2 separate regions of the Homo sapiens genome follow, and region 2 is linked to region 1. Evidence: promoter capture Hi-C in 16 types of primary human blood cells and fetal thymus (Javierre and others, 2016). All regions are on one chromosome and are shown on one strand. The core of a region is centred on a gene start or on the middle of the fragment in contact, and the rest is flanking DNA. Distances in the headings are between cores, read along the strand shown. Region 1 holds the start of ATXN2L (ataxin 2 like). Region 2 holds the start of CD2BP2 (CD2 cytoplasmic tail binding protein 2).

Region 1 (7,004 bases), core at 2,588-5,087:
AGTCAGGCTATATTTCACAGACTTCTTTCCAATATCCCCCAACCCCACTCTCCGTAAGTAGTTCAGGAACAAAGTTTAAGAAGTCCAGAGTACGTGTGCCCGTGTGTTAGGATGGCCAGGGGGTGGGGAGGCAAGAGAAGAAGAGTATAAAAAGTCTATCAGTACTATGATTCCAAAGAAAAAAGAAGTTAAAAACCAAGCAAAGAAAATATGAAGAACCACAACACAGACAGGAATTCATCGCATTATATATTAGACATCAAGACATATTTTTAAGAAGAAAAATCCACCCACTTCGCTCAGGAAAAAAAAGGCATTAAAGCAAAACAAACAAACAAAAACAAAAAAACAAACCAAACACATCACCATGTTCCACCTGCACACAAACTACCCTCTGTCCTCTATGCACACAGAGCAGGTCTGAGGTAACAGCCTAGGACAATACCTTTAGTAGCATAGTTGAAGTCAACATTTCGGAAGTGAACAAGCATGACATCACTTGGCTTAAACACCATGGTGTCCACAATGTCCTCCCGACGAGGGCCACCTGCTGGCTCAGATGCTTTCCGGTGCACAGCATCCACGGCTAGTTCAAACTACAAACACCCCATTCCCCACACCCATGGGTCAGTTTCAAGAAAAGTGAAGGCAAAAATAGAACTGGATTTCTCTTAAATAGAACTGGATTTCTCTTACCCTTCCCAAACTTTTCACAACACTACATCCTCAACATGCTTGGAACCAAGTGCATTGTTTTCTCAACATCAGCCACAGGACTTAGCAAAAGTCTCACAAAAATTTAAACTTAAATATTTTAACATTAAAGTACCCAGCCCTCAAATTTGTCTTTTTTCCCTGCAGCACTATTCAGCACAGGCCTACAGAAACAACTAAAGGCATACTCTGACATCACCCAATTGACACCTTCAATGAGCCTATTTCATTCTCCTCCTACTCTGCAACTCCAAAAATAATTAAATTTGAGTACACTGACCTTTGAGCTTAGCGTCTTGAAGATACCCTCATAAGTGGTACCATTTTTCACCTTTACATCACAAGTGGAGCCCTGGCAGAGTGGGAAAAATAAGAAGAGTGTCTCCAGAAAGTAGATGCATTACGTTCCTTAAACAACCCGGGGGTTAAGTACCAACTTACCACAACAGCTGTAAGGAAATGCAGCATTCTGGAATTGTTGTAGACGCCTTCAAACACCTGTCAGTTAACATAAGAGGGAGAATTAAAGGAGTAATCAGTCAACACCTCATTTTCTTTTCTAAATGCCCGCCGCACTCTACTCATTCTGCCTTGTGTGTGCCGGGCCCACAGCCCTCCTGAGTACATTAGACTCTATCTAGACCTAATGTGCCCTATATTCCCACATTATGCATCTTTTAGGTCTATGTATCTTAAACAGGGTGGGAGAAGACACTCACAGGTGACTGTGGGGGTCCCTTTCCTGTGCTCTGTCCCCTATAAAAGAAAACAAGAAATTACTTAAGTCTGTTCAAGCCCTCTTAGACCACTATGAAATTAATGTTAAATCCTAGAAGTATATACCACCTGATGATGCTGATTTAGACTACAAAATTGTTAATCAGTAAGATTTTTCTATTTTTTTTGAGACAGGGTCTCCCTCTGTTGCCCAGGCTGGGGTGCAGTGGCGTGATCTCAGTTCACTGTAGCCTCAACCTCCAAGGCTCAAGTGATCTTCCTGCCTCAGCCTCCCGAGTGGCTGAGACTATAGGTACGAACCACCACTCCTGGCTTTTTTTTTTTTTAATTTTTAGTAGAGATGGGATTTCCCATCTGTGTTGCCCAGGCTGGTATCGATCTCCTTGGGCTCAAGGGATCCTCCCACCTTTGCCTCCTAAAGTGCTGGCATTACAGGCGTGAGCCACTGCGCCCGGCCAATAAATAAGATTTTCAAACTGTCACCTTGTAGAGGAAGAAAAAAATAGACATTAATAAGCCAGCAAACACATTTCCTCCAAATGCCAGCAAAAAGATCTCAATCAACAATGGTTGTCAATTGCTCTAAGAACCAACGAGAAAGGGGCTAGGGCTGCAGGCTACCAACAGATCAATGCTACAGTATTAACCAAAAAGCCACGCCAGCTGTGAGGGCAAAAGCTCCAGGAGTGCAGCTTTGGAACTACCTAGCTCAGGTACATTACCTCCCAAACAGAAAAGACAATCATTTTCAGCAGCCTGACGCCTCAAAACTGTGGGAGGAGGGGTATCCCCTCCACACCCCATCCCCTCGACCTCATGACTCATTCAGCCCGTTACCCACTCTGCGGGGATCACCAATCGCCAGGTAACCCTGCTCGTCGCTGGCTGATGTAACCGGCGGTTGAGGGCGAAGAGGGGGCCGCTGGCGGGGCTGGGGGACAGCGCAGCCGCAAAAGCCATCCACCGGGAGGCCTCGCCCGGTCTGCGCCTGCGCACTAAAACCCACGGGACTTTCCGAACCCCCACCTCCAGCGATCAGAGCCCACTGCGCCTGCGTGTGCTGCCACTCTTAATTCCATTAACACACACACACTCGCACAGGAAAAACTGAGCAGGGCCTCCACTACTCATGCACTGCCACCAGACGAGCCCCTCCACGAACTAGTCCCTGCCCTAGGTGTTCCCGGGGCGCGCGAATGCCCGGGTCATGAGACCGAGCATCCACGCGCACGTACGGGAAGGGGGCGCGCGCGCCAGAGGCTCCCGGCCCGCAGTCCTCCCAGTCATCCCTCCTTCCGTCCCCCCGCCCACCTCGCTCCCCTCCTACTGGCCAGACCGGGAAGGGGGAGGCAGCAACCCGCTCCCAAGTCCCTCCCTCCCCATTGGCCAAACTGTGGGCCGCGCGCCCCCCTCCATTGGCTACGGCCGGGGACCCCTTCCCGCAGCAGACTCCCCATTGGCTGAAGCCGGGGACCGCGAGACCCTTCGTGGTAATGGAACCGGGGACCCCGATCAGCTCCTTGCCCCCCCCCAACTCCCCGTTCCGACGGCGCCGGCGGGATGCGCCCCGCCTCCCCTGAAGGCCGGGGCTGCGAGCCCTGACTAGGCCCCGAGAGCCGAGCGCGGCCCCTCAGTGCTCCGGTGGCCGCCCGGGGACCCTTTCCGTCCGACCTGTTCGGACCTGAGGGGGCCCTCCCCCAGCTTCACGGGGACTCCCCACCCAGCCGGTGCCCCTGACGGTGCCGGGTCGGGGTCCGCCCCACCGGAACCGAGCCACAGCCTCTGGGTGGCCGCGGCTCCCTCGCCCGGAGCCCACCCTTCTCACCTGGCGCTGCCGATGGCGGCTGCCCCCGGCCTCTCCTGGTGTTGCTGCGGCGGCGGCGGCTGCGGCGCCAAGATGCCTTCGGCTCCCCGGCGGAGCCCGCTCCCGGCAGCGGCCACAGGCCCCAGGCAGGGGGAGGCGGCCGCTGGAGGCCCGGGAGGAGCCGCAGAGGTGGCCAGCGGCCCCGGGAGGCCGCCGTTGGGAGGGCTGGTGCCCCCGGGGGGCCGACGGGCCACGGCCTGTTGCGTGGGGGGCGGCTGCTGGGGCTGGGAGGGCTGTTGTAGCGGCTGAGGCTTCAACATGATGGCAGCGTCCGGAAGGGGAATTAGAGAGAAGGGAGGGAGAGAGGGGGCCGGGGCTGGGGCCCCGCTGGAGAGCGCGGGAAGCGAGGGGGATCGGGCAGCCGGGGCCCGCCGTGGGCGGGCGGGGGGAGCCCCGCGGTGTCGGGGGTGGAGAGAGAAGACCGCGGCGCGAGGAAGCGCCGCGAGGCGGAAGGGGAGGGGGTCTCGCGGCTGGAGGAAAGCGAGAGGGCGCGAGCCGGGCTGGCGCGCGTGCGCGTCGCCGGGGAGCGGAGAGGGAGGAGCGCGCGGGTGGGAGCTCCCGGGGGGGGGGGGGGGGGGGGGGGGCCAGGAGCGAGCAGTGGCGCGAGGTGCCGCGCACACCGGCGCGGTTAGCTCCCGGCGGGAAAGTGGGAGAGAATCAAGTCGGTGAACCTCGCACCCCTAGCCCTGGGAGTGGGTAAGGAGCGGCGCGGGCGCTCACGCGCGCCAAGGATTTAGGGTCTTAAGGTCTCAAACCGCCTTAGAAGCCGGCGGCCGCTGTCGCTTCACAATGAGCGTGTGAGGCGCAGGGGGAGGAGCCGAAGGCGCCAGAGGAAGGGCCGGCCTCTCCGCCCACGCCGTCGCTGCGTCGCGATGCCTCCGCGGGAGTGTGAGGCGGCACGTCGTGCGTGAGGCTCTTCCGCCACTTGGCGGCCCGTGGGCAGAGCCTTAAGTGCCAAGAAAGTCTCCGGGACTGGACCACCCGAGCCACTGCGCTTTTAGGCAGGTGGTAGGTTTCGCAAGGAGCTACCCTCCACCTTGTTTGCTTTAAGTAAAAGACTGATGAGCATTAGTGATTCGTTTGAGCGTGTTGATCTTTGCAGATAAATTTACGCCTCGTCCTAAATTATTTCAGATTTTTGTGATTTTGACCTAAATTGTTCCTCCATGCCCGAGAATGAATCTTTAAACTGTAATAACAAAGACTGAAGGCCAAAGTTCCGAGTTCAAAATCCTCCACCCGACCCTGCAATGAAGGCAGCTTCATTCATTCAAAATGAGTTGGGCATTGGAGTATTCAGTTAGTTGTTTTGGACACAAGGATAATTAAACTGCTTCCTGCTCTGGAGGAGTTCATGCTAGTGGTGAATTCAGAGAATTTGACGAGATCTAGTAGGTGAAGCACAGAGGACTACAAGAGCAAATGGGAGTGACACCTAATCTTAATCCAGTTTTGGGAGACCCAGATAAGGGACAGGAGGGCCGGGCGCAGTGGCTCATACCTGTAATCCTAACATTTTGGGAGTCCGAGGCAGAAGGATCGTTTAAGGCCAGGAGTTTGAGACCAGCCTAGGCAACAAAGTGAGACTTTGTCTCTACAAAAAAAAAAAAATTTAAATTATAAAAAAAAACTGATAAGAGGGCAGGGGGAGATGGGTTTCTAGGCAGGGAAATAGGATATGACAAACTAAGAAAAACTCAGCTTGTCCTAAGCATAAAATTAAAGGGGGGAAGAGGTAGCTAATCTGGGATCAGGTTTTAAAGGCTCCCAAGTCTTGTAAGAGACACGGACATTATCCTCAAAGCAGTGGGGAGCTTATTTAAGAAAGTGAAAAGAGGCTGGGCATGGTCTGTAATCCCAGTACTTTGGGAGGTTTGAGGTCAGGAGTTTGAGATCAGCCTGGCCAACATGGTGAAACCCTGTCTCTACTAAAAATGCAAAAATTAGCTAGGCGTGGTGGTGCATGCCTGTAATCCCAGCTACTCAGGAGGCTGAGGCAGGAGAATCACTTGAACCAAGGAGGCGGAGGTTGCCGTGAGCCCAGATCGCACCACTGCACTCCAGCCTGGGTGACAGAGCAAGACTCCTTCCCCCCAAAACAAACAAAAAAACAAGTGAAAAGAGGTCAGATTTGCATTTTTAAAGGTTTACTCTTTGCAACGTGGAGAATGGAGTGGAGCTGTTAAGTCCATGTGGTCTTAATCCCAGCGAAACTCTCAATGTCTCAATCTCTTCGCTCTAAATGTTAGCATTGGAACTCTTCCCAGCCCCTGCACCAAACACATGCACACCTAGCTACAACACTGCCTTACTTTTTGGGTAATAGTCCTTCGCCCTGCCTCGCTCCTGCCTTCAGATGTGCTAGTTTCCCCTCCTGTGTGCTCGCCGAGCAATTTATCCCACTGTATTCTAACAGCTCCTTTAATTCTGTCTTCCTGCTAATGTCAGCTCCCTAAGGGTTAGGATCTTGACTTATTTCTTGCTCTGCAGTACTCTAGCACACTGCAGGCACTCAATGAAATATCTGTAAGGTGAGTGGATCCAAATGATGTTTTTTTGTTTGTTTTTGAGATGGAGTTTTGTTCTTATTGCCCAGGCTGGAGTGCAATGGCGCGATCTCGGCTCACCACAACCTCCGCCTCCCGGGTTCAAGCGTTTCTCCTGCCTCAGCCTCTTGAGTACCTGGGATTACAGTCATGCACCACCACACCCGGCTAATTTTGTATTTTTAGTGGAGACGGGGTTTCTCCATGTTGGTCAGGCTGATCTTGAACTCCCGACCTCAGGTGATCCACCCGCCTCGACCTCCGAAAGTGCTGGGATTACAGGCATGAGCCACCACGCCCAGCCCAAATGGTGTTTTAAAGGTCATCATGTCTCCTGGGTTCCCTAACAAACACAGTCCAGCTTTTTCCTGGCATTACCTGGACCACCTGATGCCATGCCACCTCTCTACCCTCATTGACAGATTGTGAGCACTGAGCACTCTAACCCCCTTCCATCTACCCCATCCTGCTCCACACTCAAATTCTGAGTTTTAGCCCCATGAAACTTCTTTCTCCATAGCTTGCCTTGCCCTTGCTAGTGGCAGCTAATTTGCATGGGGTCTACAGCAACCTCAATTCTTGCCTCCTCAGAAGAAAGAATTCCACCAAGGGGCATAAGGCAGAGGGAGAGACAGAGGCAAGTTTTAGAGCAGGAGTGAACGTTTATTAAAAAGTTTTAGAGCAGGAATGAAAGGAAGTAAAGTACACTTGGAAGAGGGCCAGGCGTGAATGACTTGACAGATTCAAGTCCCTGGTTTGACCTTTGACTTGGGGTTTCATATGCTGGCATGCTTCCAGGGATTTACGGTTTGCATCTCTTCTCCCCTGATTCCTACCTTGGCATGGGCTGTCCACATGCACGGTGGCCTGCCAGCACTTGGAGGGGCCACAAGCACAGTGTGTTCAGTATACTGAAGTGCACATGCTCACTTAAGACGTTCTTCCCTTACAGATCTAGCATTCCTGGAGGAAGGGCATGTACCATTAAACTCCGCCATTTTGCCTCTTGGTGCATAAGCTTGAGCCCATTTACCCAACTTCTGAGATCTTATCGAGAAGCTGCTGATCATCAGTTTCAAGTGTTTTCCATCTATTTGGAGACTGCCTTTCCCTGGTGCTGGCTGCAACCAATTACTATTTTA
Region 2 (6,657 bases), core at 420-2,919, 1.5 Mb before region 1:
CTTTGGGTCCATCTCTCAGTCACTCATCAGACACTGGTTGAGCTCCTGCTCCATCTTTGCCTGGGATCTGCTGTCTCCATTGTCACTGGCTGCCTGGAGCTCTCTATGTACCACGTGCAGCACCCGGATCTCCTTCCCAAAGTGCTCATGCAACTCCTGGAAGCTGGAGGGGGTACTCACAGTGGCTAGAAAGCCACTGTCCTCTGGGGATGAGATGGGTTCTTGGCCAGTTGCCTGGCACAGCTCCCAGTATTGGGTTTTGGTGGGGGGGGAGGGGGGACAGCAGCCCAGCCAGCCGCCTCCAGCTCGCGCCAGCCAGTGCCCACAGCCAAGTCTCCAGCTCTTCCTGGGTTTCTGCAGCCAGCTTGTAGGCCCGCCCACCTGTGCCCTCCACCCCAGGGGTCAGGATGGTAAAGGCATAGGGTTCTGCAGCCTTAAGGTGTGGTTCCACCTGGCAGTTCTCTAACAGGATGAGGCTCAGGGGTGCATGGTCGGTCTAGTGTTCTAGGTAGAAGAGGAGGTTTCCTCGGAGGATGAACCATCGGCGCTGGTAGCTGAGGTTTCGGGTCCCCTTCTTTAGCAGAATGCCTTCCTGGTCTGGGGCCTGTGTTCTGTAACCATGGAAGAAACTGAGCACGGACTTTCTGTGCAGTTTTCATCGTGATCCAATATGGGAGGAAACCCCTAGGGAGAGAGAAGTGGCCCATCTAGTTGCCTGGGGGAAGAGTAGGGGAACTCTCATGCTGTCCTCGTCTGGCTTCAGCACGTGCTGCCTGCGCACAGTCTTGGCTTAGGGGGATGCAGGCTCCGAGTGTCAAGAGCTAGGGGTCCCAGCACAGGGGCTGATCCCCGCTACCTCCCCAATTCCCCCTTCTGCTTGGGCCACATTCCGCTACCTGGGCAGGAGTTGCTAGGCCCTGTTTGCTCAGGGGGGCTTCATGCTGCAGAGAGGCACTGTTGCCCTTTTCCAGGCCTACCTGAGAGCAGGGCACAAGGGGCTTCTGGCCTGAGTACTGGCGCCAATGCCACCTCTCCAGTGATGGCTCTCCCACCTCAGAAACCAGGAACTCGCCCAGGGTATGGGCGTGGGACAAATTATTTCCCCTGGGTCCTAAAGGGAGGTGTGTTCAGAAAGTGCCCGGAGAGCCGTCCAGGGGCCCCAGGCTGGCCATCGGGAGAGTCAGGCTTCCCCTCGGAGAGGCAAGGCTGCACCTCTCAGGCTAGGAGGGCTGACCACTGGACCATAGGAATGGGAAGGCAGGATTTCTAACGAGACGGTAGGGGCGCTGAGCCCTTAGCCCTGGGGGAAGGGTGACTTGAACCCAGGACAGGAAAACGGAGCAGCAACCCACTGACCCTGCTCGGACTTTGCCCCTCCATCCTGACCCTGGGCGGCCCTTTAAGCAGATGCGCTCCAGTTTTTCTCCAGAGCCTCTACTGCTTGAATGACGGACTCGAAGCTACTTCCGGCCATTTCTCACGCCCAGTCAGAGTCCAGGAATTCTTAGGTTCCCTCTTCTCACCATTGTCCTCCCACGTGACTGACGTCACTTCTGGCGGGAGAGAGGGTGGAGGCGTCTTCGCTCGCTTATCGCATACTTCCGCCCGCTCTTCCAGTTAGTTCCCTAACCCGAGTGAAGCCACTTCCGGGCTTCCCGGGCGCCTTCCGCAGTCCTCTTCCGGGTGATGGCGGCCGGGTGCCCCGGATGTAGCCCTGGCGCAAGCATCTCTTCTTTTTTCCACCTCGCCTTCCGCGGATTCCCAGGTGAGTGCGCGAGGGTGGGACCGCCCGAATCCCCGTGGCCCTCTAAGTTGTACACAGCCCGGGACAGTTGGGGCTCACCACACGGAATTGGGAGTTCGGAGCAGGGAGGAACGGGGTGGCGAGAGCGCCAGGTCCTGGGTCTGCCGGGGCCCGGCGAGCTCCGAGAGAGCCAGGGTAGAGAGCGGGGGTCAGCCCGTGGAGCCGGTGGCGCGCAGACTGCGGGGGCTGGAGTTGGGGGCGGTCACGTGGTGAAGCCTGTCTCCTTTCAGCCAGGGTCGGGGGATCCAGAGGGTCCGCTCCTCCGTCCCCGCCCCGTTTAACTCGCGGATGCTAGACCCAAGTCCTGGAGGCCTCCTGGCTGCCAGCTTCCTTTCGGCCCCTGCTTTTGTGCTCCCTCCGCTCCCAAACTGTACCTGTCACAGACCAGGAAAAATGTTTGCTGTGCTGCGTCTGTTGGCGAGTCCCCTCCTCACCCGGTTCCCTTCCTCTGCATCCTTTCCTCAGCTTGAGAAACACCTCTTTGCCCCGTCATGCCAAAGAGGAAAGTGACCTTCCAAGGCGTGGGAGATGAGGAGGATGAGGATGAAATCATTGTCCCCAAGAAGAAGGTGAGGGGGCCAGACTGCTTTGTGTGGGGGAAAGAGGAGCTAGAAGCCTGAAGAGGAAGAAAGCTGGCGGGAGAGGGGCGGGGCGGGCAGGCAGAGAAAAGCCTAGTTTTTTCAGGTTCTCTGAGGAATGGGTTGGGAGCGTCTTTAGTGTGGCTCCTGAAATATTTGGGGAAGTAGTCGAGATCCTGAAATATTTGGGGAATATTTGGGTCCAGATCCGGAAGTATTTGGGGAGGTAGCCAGTAACCTGCATTTCTCAACTTTCTGGCTCCTGCTCACAGCTGGTGGACCCTGTGGCTGGGTCAGGGGGTCCTGGGAGCCGCTTTAAAGGCAAACACTCTTTGGATAGCGATGAGGAGGAGGATGATGATGATGGGGGGTCCAGCAAATATGACATCTTGGCCTCAGAGGATGTAGAAGGTAAGCTGTACCCAAGAATACACTCTGCTGGAAAAACAAGTAGGGGCCTCTGGTGGTGTGGAGCGAGGGAGGCTCCGGTCTCTTTTTTCCATGCCTGGAAAAGGGCACCTGTGTCTTTGGTGCAGGTCAGGAGGCAGCCACACTCCCCAGCGAGGGGGGTGTTCGGATCACACCCTTTAACCTGCAGGAGGAGATGGAGGAAGGCCACTTTGATGCCGATGGCAACTACTTCCTGAACCGGGATGCTCAGATCCGAGACAGCTGGCTGGACAACATTGACTGGGTGCGGCCCAGGGGCTGGCGTGGCTGGGGCCTGGGAGTGGCAGATGCTGGGCCTGCTCCCGTGGCAGTTGGTGGGAAATCACTCCATCTTCCCATTACAGGTGAAGATCCGGGAGCGGCCACCTGGCCAGCGCCAGGCCTCAGACTCGGAGGAGGAGGACAGCTTGGGCCAGACCTCAATGAGTGCCCAAGCCCTCTTGGAGGGACTTTTGGAGCTCCTATTGCCTAGAGAGACAGTGGCTGGGGCACTGAGGCGTCTGGGGGCCCGAGGAGGAGGCAAAGGGAGAAAGGGGCCTGGGCAACCCAGTTCCCCTCAGCGCCTGGACCGGCTCTCCGGGTTGGCCGACCAGATGGTGGCCCGGGGCAACCTTGGTGTGTACCAGGAAACAAGGGAACGGTTGGCTATGCGTCTGAAGGGTTTGGGGTGTCAGACCCTAGGACCCCACAATCCCACACCCCCACCCTCCCTGGACATGTTCGCTGAGGAGTTGGCGGAGGAGGAACTGGAGACCCCAACCCCTACCCAGAGAGGAGGTGAGCTTGGAGGACAGAGGAGGGGGCAGTGGGTAGGAAGTGAGACACTGGAGGCCAAATGGCTTTGCCTGTTATTTTAGAAGCAGAGTCGCGGGGAGATGGTCTGGTGGATGTGATGTGGGAATATAAGTGGGAGAACACGGGGGATGCCGAGCTGTATGGGCCCTTCACCAGCGCCCAGATGCAGGTGAGCTGCTTTCTCCCTCCTCCTGCCTTGTCCCTGCTTCCCCCACTCCTGTCAGTTGTTCCCCAGCTCTGCCCTCTCCTTGCAGACCTGGGTGAGTGAAGGCTACTTCCCGGACGGTGTTTATTGCCGGAAGCTGGACCCCCCTGGTGGTCAGTTCTACAACTCCAAACGCATTGACTTTGACCTCTACACCTGAGCCTGCTGGGGGCCCAGTTTGGTGGGCCCTTCTTTCCTGGACTTTGTGGAGGAGGCACCAAGTGTCTCAGGCAGCGAGGAAATTGGAGGCCATTTTTCAGTCAATTTCCCTTTCCCAATAAAAGCCTTTAGTTGTGTACTGGGGCCTTGGCTGTGCTGATGGCCAGAAGCCAGGGGCCTTCTCCACAGTCCCTTTGGACTTGTCTTGGTCCCTGAGTACTCCCATGAAGATCCTTCTTGGAGGTGCCTGTCAGGTATCCTGTGGCCTCCCTGCCTGGACTCTGCTTGCCGTGTAAACACCCCCAACTGCGCTGCTCTGTGCTCCTCTCCCAGGTTTCTTGTTCGATTCCTCTTAGGTCTTTGGCTTTCAGGACCTCAGATTCTTTATCCTTGTAGCCACCAGAGGACAGAGCCCCAGAAGTGGATGTTTTAGGCCCAGAAGGACCAGGGCATCGAGAAGACATTGGGACCCTGTTGGGGGTGAGCATGGAACCCTCTTACTCTCGCTTCACCCTCTCAAGCTCCTTAGATGCTGGGCAGAAGTGGGATGAGTGGCCCAAGACCGAGATCCCTAAGGTTCTGAGAGCCAGTGTCTTCCCTAATCTGGCTTTCCTCTATCCTTGCCGTCGTTCCCACAGCCCTTCAGTGAAGTGCAAACTCAGTGGCCAAGTGTGGGCCAAGTGTGCATTGTACTGGCACAGAGAGGGGCAGTGACTCACTGGAGATCACAGGAATCAAAGGGCTGGCCCAGACCCAGTGGGCTCCTTTCCCAGACCTTTCTTGGCACAAAGCCTTTGCTGCCTGGCCTTGGAGGCCCTGCGGCCTACATTCTCTGGACCCCACTATGTGCCTGGCACAGGGCTAGTGCCTTGAGGAAACTGAGGTAGCTGGGTTGGTCCCCTTCCAGGAATTCAGAGTCTGGTGGCAGGGGCATGGGAAATAGACAGATGTAATTCTATAGCCTGGGCCTGGCACCCTCCACCTCCACGCCCCACCAGCATTGCCTTACGCCTCCCTTGCCCCACGTTAGATGGTTTCTTCCGGTTTTGCACTCTGGCTGCCCCTTGGAGTCTCCTGGGGAGCTGTAATATCTCTTTGGAGATTCAGATTGAGCTGGTCTAGGTTGTGGCCCAGGCATTGGGCATTTTGGAAGCCCCCAGGTGTTTTCAGCTTGCAGCCAGGCCGAGAGAGAGCCCCTGAGTCAGATCCCCATGGTTTAGGCACACCTAGCGGGAGGGGTGGCTCCTGGACCCCACCGTGGTTGGAGAGCTGAGCATGTGTGTGGCTTTAGTGGGGTCTGTTAGTTATGGGGGTCTGGGCACTGGAGCTGCAGGACACTTGGGATCCCAGGTCAGAAAGGGCCAGATGAGCAACTAGGAAAGACTTGGGGGCCAGGGCGGAGTGGGGTCACCTGACACTCTTGTGAGGCCCCTTCTAGTGCCTGCTCACACCGGAATTTCATTCACTCCAAGAAGCCATCAGGGGTAAGATACCTTCCTTTAAACGTCACTAAGAAAGAAGAGGCCTGCCGGTGACACAGTAAGATGCCATTGATCTAAAGATGCGTCTTGATTTCAGAAAGGTCCGGAAGTGGAAAGCAGGTTTCAGGGCTGCTGAGGTACAGGGTTCTCCTGTAGGCCCCAGGGATGGTCTCAGGGGTGCTGAGTGCGTGCGTGGTAAATGGATGGAGCCCAGGGGCGCCTCCTGCCAGTGTCCTCCAGGCACTCAAACCTAGCCCTTCTGAAGCCGACCTCACGTGACCTCACAGCCCCTCCTGAAGGCGCCTCACTGATGACGGTGGGTGGAATAACAGCCCCCAGAGATGTCCAGGTTTGGAACCCCAGGACGTGGGAAAGTGTTACCTTGCGTGGCAAAAGGGACCCGGCGCCTGTGCTTCAGTTCAGGATTTCGTGGTGGGGAGATGACCGTGGATGGTTGAGGTGGGCCCTGAGTAATCATGGGGGCCCTTATAAGGGAAGGGGAGTCACGAGGGTCTGCGCATGAAGCAAGGAAGCTTCTGGCTGTGAAGATGGCAAGAAGGCCTGGGGCCAGGCGATGAGGTGGCCCCTGGAGGAGCTGGAAAAGGCATTGGATTCTGCCCCAGAGCCTCCGTGGAGAAACAAAGCCGCACTGACAAGACTTCAGCCTGGTGAAAACCATTTTGGACTCCTGACCTCTAGAACTGTAAGATAATAAATTGGTGTGGTTTTCAACCTCTCAGTTTGTGGTAATTTGTTAACAGCCCCAATAGGAAACAACTACTCATGCATCCAGGGGACACCTCATGAACCACCCGATCTCACTAAGTTCTCCCTTCCTGTGACCACATTGCTATTTCAGGTCCCTGTCAGCACTTATAAATGTGGCTGCCTCTTGCTAGGGTGGCCTTTATAGCACATCTGAAACAGCACTCCTTGGCTTTTTGTTTGTTTTGTTTTTAGAGACAGGGTGTTACTGTCACCCAGTAGGGGTGACAACATCTCTCTACACTGGAGTACAGTGGTGTGATCATAGCTCAATGCAGCCTTGAACTCCTGGGTTCAAGTGATCCTCCCACCTCAGCCTCCTAAGTAGCTGGGTCTACAGGAGTGCACCACTTCACCTGGCTAATTAAGAAACTTTTTTTTGTAGTGGCAGGGTCTTGCTATGTTGCCCAGGCTAGTCTC

Evidence for each region. The method cuts DNA at HindIII sites, captures the fragments that hold promoters and counts their contacts. A CHiCAGO score of 5 or more calls a contact.
Region 2: a contact is called between the fragment with the promoter of CD2BP2 here and the fragment with the promoter of ATXN2L in region 1, in 1 of 17 cell types (monocytes). The highest score is 7.3, in monocytes.

Annotation. Positions count from the first base shown.
Region 1 is chr16:28,819,832-28,826,835 of GRCh38, reverse strand. It overlaps ATXN2L (ataxin 2 like), which reads right to left and starts at 3,837. Exons shown (of 22, transcript NM_007245.4): 1 at 3,278-3,837; 2 at 1,434-1,470; 3 at 1,156-1,212; 4 at 995-1,066; 5 at 446-596. The coding sequence starts at 3,576. It overlaps LOC124903672 (a long non-coding RNA gene), which reads left to right and starts at 2,794. Exons shown (of 2, transcript XR_007065042.1): 1 at 2,794-2,942; 2 at 6,815-7,004. RefSeq lists a silencer at 2,631-3,780 and enhancers at 4,101-4,310, 3,822-4,558. The HindIII fragment of the contact is 7,883 bases long and covers 1-6,882 here.
Region 2 is chr16:30,350,320-30,356,976 of GRCh38, reverse strand. It overlaps CD2BP2 (CD2 cytoplasmic tail binding protein 2), which reads left to right and starts at 1,669. Exons shown (of 7, transcript NM_006110.3): 1 at 1,669-1,765; 2 at 2,270-2,373; 3 at 2,655-2,793; 4 at 2,919-3,076; 5 at 3,177-3,609; 6 at 3,690-3,796; 7 at 3,882-6,204. The coding sequence starts at 2,296. The coding sequence ends at 3,992. It overlaps CD2BP2-DT (CD2BP2 divergent transcript), which reads right to left and starts at 1,543. Exons shown (of 2, transcript NR_184233.1): 1 at 1,357-1,543; 2 at 1-684. RefSeq lists enhancers at 1,498-1,557, 1,638-1,697, 752-1,703, 1,435-1,729, 1,420-2,619 and 1 more. The HindIII fragment of the contact is 7,065 bases long and covers 1-6,007 here.